Linked DNA regions of Homo sapiens: regions 2, 3 and 4 are each linked to region 1. Evidence: promoter capture Hi-C in 16 types of primary human blood cells and fetal thymus (Javierre and others, 2016). All regions are on one chromosome and are shown on one strand. Each heading gives the region's core, a stretch centred on a gene start or on the middle of the fragment in contact. The rest is flanking DNA. Distances are from core to core; before and after follow the strand shown. Region 1 holds the start of LRRC52-AS1 (LRRC52 antisense RNA 1). Region 2 overlaps LMX1A (LIM homeobox transcription factor 1 alpha). Region 3 has its middle 24 kb from the start of LMX1A. Region 4 overlaps RXRG (retinoid X receptor gamma).

Evidence for each region. Contacts are between HindIII fragments. The CHiCAGO score rates a contact against its expected background, and 5 or more counts as called.
Region 2: a fragment that was not itself captured here is called in contact with the fragment with the promoter of LRRC52-AS1 in region 1 in 1 of 17 cell types (activated CD4 T cells); the score reaches 6.3 in activated CD4 T cells.
Region 3: a fragment that was not itself captured here is called in contact with the fragment with the promoter of LRRC52-AS1 in region 1 in 9 of 17 cell types (total CD4 T cells, activated CD4 T cells, total CD8 T cells and 6 more); the score reaches 10.6 in total CD4 T cells.
Region 4: a contact is called between a fragment that was not itself captured here and the fragment with the promoter of LRRC52-AS1 in region 1, in 1 of 17 cell types (naive CD8 T cells). The highest score is 6.0, in naive CD8 T cells.

What each region holds. Positions count from the first base shown.
Region 1 is chr1:165,580,457-165,583,560 of GRCh38, reverse strand. It overlaps LRRC52-AS1 (LRRC52 antisense RNA 1), which reads left to right and starts at 1,406. Exons shown (of 7, transcript NR_026744.2): 1 at 1,406-2,206. It also overlaps the pseudogene RPS2P10. The HindIII fragment of the contact is 5,029 bases long and covers 1-3,104 here.
Region 2 is chr1:165,339,406-165,342,509 of GRCh38, reverse strand. All of the region lies in intron 3 of LMX1A (LIM homeobox transcription factor 1 alpha), which reads left to right. Among named protein-coding and RNA genes, the nearest start is that of LMX1A, 16 kb to the left of the region's middle. The HindIII fragment of the contact is 773 bases long and covers 1,098-1,870 here.
Region 3 is chr1:165,378,811-165,381,914 of GRCh38, reverse strand. No RefSeq gene overlaps it. Among named protein-coding and RNA genes, the nearest start is that of LMX1A, 24 kb to the right of the region's middle. The HindIII fragment of the contact is 3,600 bases long and covers 1-3,104 here.
Region 4 is chr1:165,428,180-165,431,283 of GRCh38, reverse strand. It overlaps RXRG (retinoid X receptor gamma), which reads left to right. Exons shown (of 10, transcript NM_006917.5): 2 at 2,318-2,565. Among named protein-coding and RNA genes, the nearest start is that of RXRG, 15 kb to the left of the region's middle. The HindIII fragment of the contact is 363 bases long and covers 1,338-1,700 here.

The sequences.
Region 1 (3,104 bases), core at 157-2,656:
CCCCTCTGGCTTAAGCTGGCTTTTGAAAACAACAGTATGAGTAAGTTATATAACACTTTAAAAATCAGTGTCATAATTTTATATTTTACAGGTGGAATGTATATATATATTACAGGTGGAATATATATATACACACATATATGTATATTTTACAGTTGGAATATATACACATATATGTATATATACACATATACATATATGTATGTATGTATGTGTATATATGTATGTATGTGTATATATGTATGTATGTGTGTATATGTATACGTATATACATATATGTGTGTATATGTATACGTATATACATATATGTGTGTATATGTATACGTATATACAATGTATGTATATATGTATACATATACATACATATATACATGCATGTATGTATATGTGTATATATACATACATATACACATACATACACATATATGTGTATATGTATACACATACATACACATATATGTGTATATGTATACACATACATACACATATATGTGTATATGTATACACATACATACACATATATGTGTATATGTATACACATACATACACATATATGTGTATATGTATACACATACATACACATATATGTGTATATGTATACACATACATACACATATATGTGTATATGTATACACATACATACACATATATGTGTATATGTATACACATATACATATGTGTATACGTATACACGTATATATGTATACACACATACATACGTATAGATGTATACACACACATACATACGTATAGATGTATACACACATACATACGTATATATGTATACACACACATACGTATATATGTATACACACATACATACGTATATATGTATACACACACATATACGTATATATGTATATAGACACATATACGTATATATGTATATATACACACATATATACGTATATATGTATATATACACACATATATACGTATATATGTATATATACACACATATATACATATATATAATGTATATACACACACATATATACATATATAATATGTATATATACACACACATATATGTATGTATATTTTACAGGCTTAATTAACTTTCTTTTTCTTGTATAAAAACCCTATGTTGTAGCTACAGCTGGAGCCTGGGTCCTCTGCACGGAGACTCTGGTGTGGGTCTTGGCGAGGTGGTCAGTGAATTCTTGATAGGGACACTTGGTGAATACAGCCGTCCTCCAGAGGTCAGGGGTCAGGTAGCTGTAGGTCTTAGAGATGGCATCAAAGGTGGCCTTGGCGAAGTTGCTCAGAGTGGCAGTGCAGCCCCTGGCTGAGGTGTAGCAGTCATCGATACCAGCCATCATGAGCAACTTCTTGGGCACAGGCGCCGAGACGATACCGGTGCCTCTGGGCACGCGGATGAGGCGCACGAGCACGGAGCCGCAGCAGCCCGTCACCTTGCAACGGATGGTGTAGGGCTTGCCGATCTTGTTCCCCTAGTAACCTCTGCGCATGGGGACAATGGAGAGCTAGGCCAGGATGATGGCCCTGTGGATGGCAGTGGCCACCTCCTTGGAGCACTTAACACCCAGACCGACGTGACCGTTGTAGCCCGCAATGGCCACAAACGCCTTGAACCTGGTTCGCTGGCCGGCTCCGGTCTGCTTCTGCACCGGCATAATCTTCAAAACCTAGGCCTCGAGAGAGGCCCCCCAGGAAAAAATCAATGATCTCAGATTCCGTGATGGGCAGGGAGAAGAGACAGATCTCCTCCAGGGAAGTGATCTTCATGTGCTTGACCAGGCAGCCCAGCTTGCTGACGGGCATCCACTCCTTATCCTTGGCCTTGCCTCCGCGAGCTCCGTGGCTTCGGCCCCAGCCTGGTCCACGGCAGTGACCCCGGCCTCGGATGCCACTGCCGAAACCTCCACGGAAGCCACCATGGTTCCCCATCCCAGGGCCCCGGGGCCTCCGGGACTCCCCCCGCAACCCAATGCCGGCTGCGCCGGCGTCATCCGCCATTTGGTGTTTTCTCGGAGAAGAAGCTACATGTGGAATATATTAACGCAACAAATTGTGCGTACTTGCTAGACATTAGGCATGATAGCAAGTGCTAGGGTTACAAAGTATTGCTTTTTGGGGAACCCATGGTTGTTGGGGAGAAACCAGAAGATCAGTCATCACAGTGCGGCAAGATCAGACTTGTGGTTTGTTCAGGTTCTGGGAGCCGTCACTGCAGTGAGAATGGGTGAGTTGGGGCAGGCTGTGGTGTCTGGGAAATTTTAAAATAGAAGTGATACTTGAGCAAGAAGTTGAAGGATGAATATGGATTTATAGAATAAGCAGGGTGTAGAGACATGTGTGCATGTGTGTGTGTATTTCATAAAGAAAGACATGCATGTGCAAAGGCCTGGAGGCTGTTGATGTCAGCAGAATGTTCTGAGGAATGAGTAAGATGAAACAGATGAAACACTTAAAGGCATTTTTTCTCCATTAGTCAAGTCTAGGAGAGGCATTCAATGTCTAATGTCTAACTAGGGTTAGGATTTGAAGAATCTTTCTAAGATGTCTGGTCTTTTTTTTTTTTTCTTTTAGAGATGGGGTTTCACTGTGTTGCCTAAGCAGTGGCTATTCATAGGCACAGTTACAGCACACTGCAGTCTTGAACTCCTGGACTCAAACTATCCTCCTGCCTTGGCCTCCAAAGTAGCTAGGGCTACAGGCACATGTGACTGTGCCTGAGTAAGACGTCCCCTCTCAAAAGTCAGCAAATAAAAGGCAGCTTAGAGAAAGCCATGGTTCCTACCTGATCACCCTCCCAACCATCCTATGAGGATTTTACAGATGAGGACCCTGACGTTCAGTGGGTTTAAGTAATTTCCCTAAAGTCTCTGCTAGGAAGAAGGAGAACTGGGCTTTCCATTGGAGTCTGCCTCACTCCAAAGCCCACGACAAATTGTGAACATAAGTTCCTCTTTATCTGATGACTTGGGACTTTGTCTCACCTTAGGACCAGTCTTCTGTATGTGAGATTATTAGGTAGTTTGGTAGCTGGAGATGTAGCAGCAGATGCAGAGGTCTGAGCACATGGACTGGCCTTAGGCAGTGTCCAGACTAGTGGGCCTCTGACTTCAGAGTGCCTAAGC
Region 2 (3,104 bases), core at 235-2,734, 240 kb after region 1:
CCCCAGCCCCCAGAAGAAGGACAAAAAGGCAAGCAGAATCCATTTTCTTTCTCTCCAGCTCCCAGGGTTTGCTATTGGTGACTTTTGTCCTGGGAGCTTGTCTGCACATTTGGCAGCAGAACTGTTGAATATCATATCCGGAGCTTCCAGCATAACTTCCATCGGGACCAGCCAGCAGCTGTCCATCCATTCCTTGCATAACCCCTTTCCAAGTTTTCTTCTGAACTGTGTTGTATTTTCAAACAAGTCTCAGCCTTAGCTAGAAAAGATCCCACTGTGCCCCCAGTGGAGGCTGATTTCCAGAACTGTTGACATCCCTCTTGTTTTTTACTTGGCCTAGCTGGATCAAAAAGTGATAATGGAATCCCAGTTTTTAAGGAAACTGAGTATTCCTGTATTGTATTATTTCTCTCACCATTGCTGAAATTTTATTCTCTTAAAACTAGTTCTAGTCCATTTTGGAGAGATGAAATATGTGTCTGAATTTAATGTTTGTAAACTGGTATTTAATGAAACTAGAGATTTCAGGTAACACATGAGCAACTGGAATGTACTTTACCTAGTTGCATGTGGAATTTTCTAATTTAGAGTTAAACAGACTCTTATAAACAGTTGGTTCATTAATTAAATCACTCATTCATTCATTTAATCATCAAACATTCGTATTAAATTCCTGTATGTGTCAGGTATGTAAAAATGAATAAAACAAATCACTCATGTACTAAAGGTCTAGCAGAAACTGTTTAGACATGTAAATTAAGCAGATGCTTTGAAAAAAGAATAACATTATTTTAAGAAAGGCATGGCCACAGGGATAGAAAACCAGGTTATCTAAATTCCTTGGTTCTGTATTACTATGTGCTATTCATCATCTTCAAGGCACTTATTACAATTTGAAATATATATATATATATATATATTTGGTTTATTGTCTGTCTATGTCACTAGACCATAAGCTCTATGAAGGAAGACACTTCTTGTTTTGGTTTTGTTTTATAATCCCTACATCTCCATAATCTTGCATAGTATTTAGTGAATGCATGTTAGTTGAATAGATAAATTAATTACGTGACTTGCTTGGGGTTGTTTAAAAAGCTTCATGGAAAAGGTGACATGTTAACTGGCTCTTGCAGGATGAGTGGGAGTGTAGGAAAAGAGGAGATGATGGGAGAATTCCAAGTGGAAGAAGAAACATGTGCAAATGGATGGAGCCCGGAAAAGAAAGTGTGCTAGTTACTGTGGTCACTGGTCATGGACATGGTGGTGCCACAACATCAAGAGCATTTAGGGTATGGCTGGTTGTGGACTGCAAAATCATGCCAAGTCACTATGAGTGTTGTGTAACATACAAAGAACATTCAGTTTCATACTGTGGTTAGTAGGCAGCCAGCAGGGATTTCTAAGCATGAAATATTGTGGCCATATTTATTTTCTGGAAAGGTAATTCTGGTGGCAAACTGGGGCACTGGTAGGAGTGTGGGTAGAGACTGGCAGAGACCACTTAGATAGTTGTTGCTATAGTCTAGGCAAGAGATAATAAGGATATGAATTAAGGTGAGAGGTTGGGAATGAAGAGGACAAACATGACCTAGAAAATATTCCTGACGTAGGATAAGTTGAACATCATGACTTTTGACTGAGGAAAGGGGTGATAAAGAGAGAAGATTTGAAGATGATCCAGAAGGGACAAGGTGGACTGTTACATCAGTACCTGATAGAGGGAATTTAAGAAGTGAGCAGGAGACAGGCAGAAGCAGATAATGAGATAACTGTGAACATGCTATACTAAGTTACTGGTGGGACAGTCAGGTGGAGATGTCCAGGAGGCAGTTGTGAAAGAAGATCTGGAAACTAGCCAGGACACAAAGCTTTGGGATACATTGTCATATAAATATCAGAAGAGGGGAATGCCCAAGGGTGTACTACATGAAAAGAGAGCCAAGGTTGACTCTGTGGGGGAACACCAGAATTCAAAGAGCTTTGGGAGATTCTGTAATGAGATGACACAGAGGCAGGGGAGAACATCAGAGTGAGTGGAGTTCTGGAAGGCAGGGCAGTAGTAGGGAATTTCAAGAAGTAGGGCTTCCTGTTTGCCCTTACCAAGCGTAGTTTTGGCCAGGTACAGTGGCTCATGCCTGTAATCCCAGCACTTTGGGAGGCTGAGGTGGGTGGATCATTTGAGTCCAGGAGTTTGAGACCAGCAGTGAGACCCCATCTCTAAAAAAATAAAAACAAAAACATTAGCCAGGTGTGGTGGCACATGTCTGTGGTCCCATGTACTCGGGAGGCTGAGGTGGGAGGATGGCTTTTGCTCAGGAGTTTGAGGCTGCAATGAACCATCACCATTGCACTCCAACCTGGGCAACAGAGCAAGACCCTGTCTCAAAAAACCAAACAAACTAGGTTTGCTAGAGGCATAGAGGGTACAGGACAGCATTTTATACCATATAAAGGCTATATAGTAAAAAGAAGTTGAAGAAATAGGGGGAGTGATGTGGCCACTCTTTCAAGAAGATGCGTAGTGAGAAAAAGATGGGGGGCAAAGATACCACTTGGGGTAGAGATAGAATGAAGGGAAGATGCTTTGGGATGAGGTAGTTTTGAGCCTGCTTGATGGCTAAGGTGAGTTTAGCCAGGGAAGGAAGGAAGTTGAAGATCCAGGAGGGACAGTGGGGCATCCATGTGATAGAGGAGAAGCCTAGGGAAGGGTGAGGGGCACATCTGGGGCACAGGTTCTGCCCCTGCTTTGCTCCTTCCCAACCACTCCTTCCCTTTGTTCTTTTGTACATTTCCCTGTGGGTTTGTTAGAACTGATCACTGCAGTACAGGGGCTGGCAGAGGTGGGTCTGCTTTCCATCACTCCTCAAGGCCTCTCAGTAGGTGAGAGCTTCTCACAGAGCTGCTTTGCCAATGCGTTCCTGGGTCATGGGCCTGGGAATGGCAGTAGAGCGAGGCTCCCACCTATTTCCTTCTTCTTCAGATACCAGTCATCTCAATGCGAAGCTCACCGGCCTGACCTCTTTTTGTTTTTGCTCCTGATCCATGCAGAACTCTATTGCATGTTGTCAGAAGTATACCACCACATGGCCAATTCCCCAAGACAG
Region 3 (3,104 bases), core at 427-2,926, 200 kb after region 1:
AGAGCCCTGGCTTTTGGGGGTGCCCCAGCTCTGTAGAAACCACTCAGGCACTAAGTCCACGGAAACTCTGACCCATTAAAATAAAGTCAAAGAACTCAGTGGGAAGAGGGGAGACAGATTCAGCTATTAAACCTCTCCCAGTTTACATAAAATTCTTCCTTATGAATCAAAAGTACTCCTGGAAGTTCTTTTAGTCACTGATTATAAATGCATATCATATTCAGTGCCTACTATAAGTCAGGTTTTGTTCTAGGCTTTGGGATTCATCAATGAGTAAAATAATTTTCTGCTCTCATAGAGTTTAGAATCTGGGGCAGGAATAGAAGCGAAAACAAACTCATAAGTAAGTAATTCTACTTTAGGCAGACTACATGATAAAGAAAATGATTCAAGGTAAGGAGAGAGAGGATGCATAGACTGGGGGAGGGAGATTGCTATTTTAGAGAGTAGCCAGGAAAGACTTTTCTGAGGAGGAGTCAGCCAATCAGAGATGTGAATGAAGAGAAGGGACTAGTAATGCTAAGATATAGCAGATACACTCAGAGATGTGAGGGTGTGTGTGTGTGTATGTGTATGTGTGTGTGTGTGTGTGTATGTGTGTGTGTGTAGTAATGCCCACAGGCAGGACAGGTAATACCAGTAATAGGTCCATCATATTTTATGCAGGTTCGTTGGTACATACTTGTGGTGCTAAGTTCAGCATGCCATATAGACAGGGGTAACAGCAAGTGTAAATGCCCTGTGGCAGAAAGTAGCTTGTAGAGCAGAAAGTATCAGTGACCACTGACTGCTGCAAGAGGAAGACAGGGAGGGGAGGAAGGGCCACATTAAGATTGGCCTTGTTGGCCATAATAAGGATCAAATTCTTATGCACCACCACATAGCCCTTTCCAAAGCCCACATTGATCTTCATCCCCCACAGCACCATCCTGCTGTACAAAAGGGCCCAGTTGTGATAATCACTACAACTGGGGAGATGTTGGTCATCACAGGCTCTGGGGGTCTGGGCAGGATAGAACTGAGCTCCGTGTGACCTTCACTACCCCCCTAAGCAATTTAGCATCACTCTGTAGCTGGCCTAAGAAGAGGGCAGATCCTCCTTCCAACTCTACTCGCTTCTTCCCACCTGACTCCACCACCCACCCTTACAATTTTAAGTGTTTTTAAATCCACCTACTTCTGGGAAATTTCTGGGGCTCTTATTGAGTCCTGCTAAGAGCCTGAGGGAACTGAGAGAAAGACAGGAGGCTCTCCCTTTTAGGAATGGATTGTGGGTCACTGAGGTTCAGAAAGTGGGGAGCTCTGGGCGGCCTCCAGCAAAAGACCTGATGGTCAACCCTGAGGTGGAACGAGTTTAGAAAACAAACTATTTTTGCCCCATTCATTCATGTCCACCAGCTGCTCCCTGAGCTCCATCGACCTGGTAATTGTTTTTCTTGGCATTCCAGGGTAGTAGGTCACGTTAGATTCTTTTCTTTCAAATATTCTACTGACATCAAAGTGGAAGGGATGTAAGGTAAAAAGAAATAAATCGGGGAGGATTCTGCATGTTTCACAACTGCTTTTATGTTCAGGATGTGCAGGAATGCCGGGGTGGGCGCAGATTCTGTTACCTCCCCCAGTTCAAGGAAGAGTGGTGGGTGGGAGTGTGTGTGATGTCCATATGCAGAAATGATCTGGACTGACAGTAGGGCAGTAGGCTGCACAAAAGCAAGAGTCAAGGGCAAGATTTTTCAAATTGAGATAGTGTAGCGGATAACACAGGGCTTAGATTGAGCAATAAAACATGAAACTGGTGGGAGGCAGCTGGAGGTGATAGCAGTAAGGTGGAGAGACAGGAACGAGGCTCCATTGCTTGGTGTGTGCTCTTGGGAAGGGCATGTTCCCTCCCAGAGTCCAGATTTTCTCACCTATAAGGTAGATTCTGTATGTACGACTTTTCCACATCTTAGATCTTCCTGAACAGTTCTGATTTGGGTGGTTAGCCAAAGAATCAAAAGCAATTTCATTTTCATAACATAGCCTTGGTCCCTGGACTTCAGGAGTTTGCAGTCTGATGGAGGATTTAGCATGAGCATGTTACAGAGATTGCAGAAGTCTCCAGCAGTGCAAAGTGAAGGAGCACCGGAAGTCTTCAGTAGAGAAGAGTCTTAAAGAGAGCTTCCCTGGAGTAAGCTGTGGAGAATCTGGGAAGACTCAACTAAGACACTTTTAGAAGCAGGGGGCAATAAAGCCGGTGGACAGAAGGCTGGGGAAGAGCCAGGTTATAACAATTATAGATTAGAGAGGGTATTGTTTCATGTCTGTTTTACTGAATGAGCCCATTATTGCGTTGGGTACACAAGGCTCAAAACAAGTTTAATTTTTTAAAAAACTTCTTCCTGACTCCCTCTTTTCAGTGAAATTTATACACTCTTTCTATAGTGCAGTGTACCTCAAGAAATTTCAAAATGGTTATACACTTTCACCCGAAAGTTCTACTTTTAGAAATGTGTTCTAAGAAAATAATCAAGGCTATCAATTGCTGTGTGCCAGGCACCAAAACAATTTATATATACAATTTTGTTCTCACAATAACTCAGTAAGGAAGATATTATTATCGCCTTATCTGTGTGTGAGAAACATGAGATCTAGAAAAATTTAGTAAATGTGGTTAAAGTTACATCCAGCAAGTGGTATAGACAGGATTTGAATCCAGGTCTGAATGAGTCAAAAGCCTATTTTCAATCTCCACAGTTTTCTTCCACTTTAGGGACATGCACAATGATGTATGTACAAGAATTGATTAAACCAGATATAGTTCATTCATGTTGAATATTGTGAAGACATGAAAAATGATGCTGTAGAGCACTTCAAAGCCATGGAAAATTATTTATAATACGTTACGTAGAAATGTGATGACATATTGTGTATGACATGAGCCCAATTTTATAAAAAGATATGATAATGCTTAGGTACTAATCAAATAAAATGTTGATATTTTATGCACTATATTGGGATTGTGAATTTTTTATTTTCTTATCAATGTATTTTGTAGTTTCAAATTTTTCTTTAAAAAATAACATTGCTTTTTTAATCAGAAAAAATAAATGACACAAAACAGT
Region 4 (3,104 bases), core at 270-2,769, 150 kb after region 1:
TTTCAGCTTGAGATCACTTCATAATTGAGTCATCTTGTACTCTTGGTGCAGATGGCTCTCCAATCATCTTTGCTGTCCTTGATAACAAACACAGAGGAGAGCGTGGGTTTCAGATTGGCAATTTGAATCAAGGCTTTGCCACTAACTACCTGGGCAGTGCCAGGTAATCTGATAGAGATGGAGAAACAAAACTGGACATGGTTTTTTCCTTTTTGTTTAGTGGGAAAGACAGGGAATAAACAAATATAGTGATACAGTATAACAAATGCTAAGATACAAGTAGGAACAGACAGTTTTAGGAAATAAAAAAAGGGCAGGAAACCAGACCAGGAACACCAGGAAAAGCTTTGTGGAGGAGGTGGCACTTGAGTTAGACCTTGAAGGTTGAATAAGAGCTTCTAGACAATGGAGGCAGGGGTAAGTCATCCTGGAACTGGAAATGGTATGGGGTTAGATGGAGCCTAAGTTTTCTCATCTGCAAAAGGCTGAAATGATTTTCATAGGCTTATTGTCAGGATAAAGAGTTATGGAAACTGCCTGATGCTATTGAGGACACATAATAAATGTTTGAGTTATTAATTTTAACCACTTTGCCATGCCCCTGTGGGCCCACAGCATGTGTTTTCTCCTTGATTGTGGTACTTAGGACATGGGGTATTGGGACTTATCTGTTTATGAGGCAATTGTCCCTGATAGACCAAAGCTCCATACGTAGAATGACAAGAGGGTCACAGCTTCCTTGGAGTGACTTCCTTCCACAAGTAGCCCTCAACTAAGCTAGCAGAAGCTCCAAGAGAAACTGCAGGTTGACATTTTTTCCAGTGGAATATTTACGTTTAAGAATAGTTTCACAGTTATATTTCTGACACTTCCTGCTCTCTACCAGAACTTGAAAGAAGCCAGTTTCTCCTAGCATCCTACTCCTGACATTACACTTAGCACCCACTGATGTTGCCCAAAGGCTTAGGACAGTGCCTTGCATGTAGTAGGCACTCAAGAAATATTTGTTGGATGAATAATGAGCCACATAAAGTCAGGCATATGACTTCCTCCACTTCTTATCCCATCTGCTTGGCAAGGTGTCTGACCCACAGTAGGCATCTGAGAATGGGGTAGCTTCTCCAGCAGACTGTGCTTACTGAGCACTTAATCCTCTCCCTTTCTATCCATGTGGACAGCTTGGGTGCCATGGATGTGCTGCGTGCAGCTACTGTGCACATGGCTTCTTCACATCTGTTCTTGCATGCTAGCTGCACAGGGATCTAGTGATGGGATCCACGGTGGGGTGCCCTGTGGTGTTTTCTAGTCTCTGCTTTGCTGCTACAGATCCTAAAGCTTATAGCTCCTCTCTTCTGGAGAGAATGTTCCATGCGGGGCTCCCAAGATGACAGGAGGGCACTCTCCTGTTTCATCTCGAGTTTGCTACTGACTACAGGGGAATGTGGGTTCAATTTATTGGAAGAAAGTGATACTGATGACCTCCTCACCCAGACCCTGTTCCACAGACACTTTTGGCTGCAGCATTCTATTCTTGGAGGCAGAAATGGTCTCGGCAGTCTGGTCTGCATTTGCCTTCCTGTGCTACCTGGGCCTCTGTGGCCATAAAGCCATGCCTAGCCATTCCAAGTCTTCTCCCCTGAGTGCTAATTAACCCTGTACTATAGAGAGGGACAGGAAAAGAACATCATGTACATAAAGCTTCAATAGATATAGGAAACTGGGGGTATGACAACAGCCACTGCCTTCCCCATCATTATTATGGAATGTGACTCCTGATGTCAGCGACTGTGTGCTCTTCTGCTCTGAATCCCCAGCACCTGGCACCCTAATAAATGTTTGTTGCATATAAATGAATGAATCTCAGCCCTGCCCTGATTATCAGAGCAATATGAGTTCTAGTCAGGGAATTATGGAGCAGCCTGGGAACCTACTCACTCTCCCCATCGAGGTTTGGTATAGACTCACCTTCCCTGGCTGGCTGGCCCAGGCCTCAGTCACTCAGGCTGGGGTCTTCTGGACTGTGCCCCTTGTTGCACTGGCTGTGGATCCAGCATAGTCCAGAGTGGATTCCAAGCTGGGCCCCAGAGAACATCCATGCTTATTTCTGTCCTAGAGCAGGCCCTCTCCCCTCTGTGTCCCTCGCTTGTCTTTATACCACCAGGGTAGTGTAGGTGAGAGCACCTAGGGCTTACAGGTGTGTAGGTGTGGCTAAAAGAGGGGCAGGATACAGGAAAGAAAGGTGGGGCTAGGCCTCTGTCCCCCAGGGCCCCTTTCCATGTTCCCCAACCTCCCACCATCTATATTCTTCTTCTTACAGGCTCCCCTGGCCACACTGGCTCTACATCCATGAGCCCATCAGCAGCCTTGTCCACAGGGAAGCCAATGGACAGCCACCCCAGCTACACAGATACCCCAGTGAGTGCCCCACGGACTCTGAGTGCAGTGGGGACCCCCCTCAATGCCCTGGGCTCTCCATATCGAGTCATCACCTCTGCCATGGGCCCACCCTCAGGAGCACTTGCAGCGCCTCCAGGAATCAACTTGGTTGCCCCACCCAGCTCTCAGGTAAGTGTTCTTCCTCTCCAAGGCCTTTCCAGCCATCTTACATGGTTTCACCCAGGCTGCTCCTGGAGCAGAACCAGCACTCAGCAGGTCCATAATGCGTGCTTGCCAAAGGGTTTGAATGGTCTCTGCAGACGTCCCTCAGGCAGGGCCTTCATTGCATGTGTCCTCAGGCTGAGCAGTCCTGAAGAACTGACAACTCCTCATGGTCCAGGAGACTGTGACCAAAAGGGGGCCTTCCTTGTAGTTTTAGCAGTTCAGCCCTGGCTGTGATTTCAACATCTCTCAGCAGAATGGACCCCTTTTATTCTTCTCAATTCAATCATGAGCATTTATTGAGTCACTGAAGTGCCACGTGCTCTTGTTAAAGGCAATGCAGAAATGATCAGGAAATGGCCATTGCTTTCCAGGAGCTTACAAATGAGAGGAGAAATAGGCAGGTATGTCAATGGATAAGTTGAGAACAAGGCAGACTGCATTACATGCTATGCTGTCTCTGAGACTATGGGAGGTTGGGAAGGAAACTTTCCCTTAATTTCGAG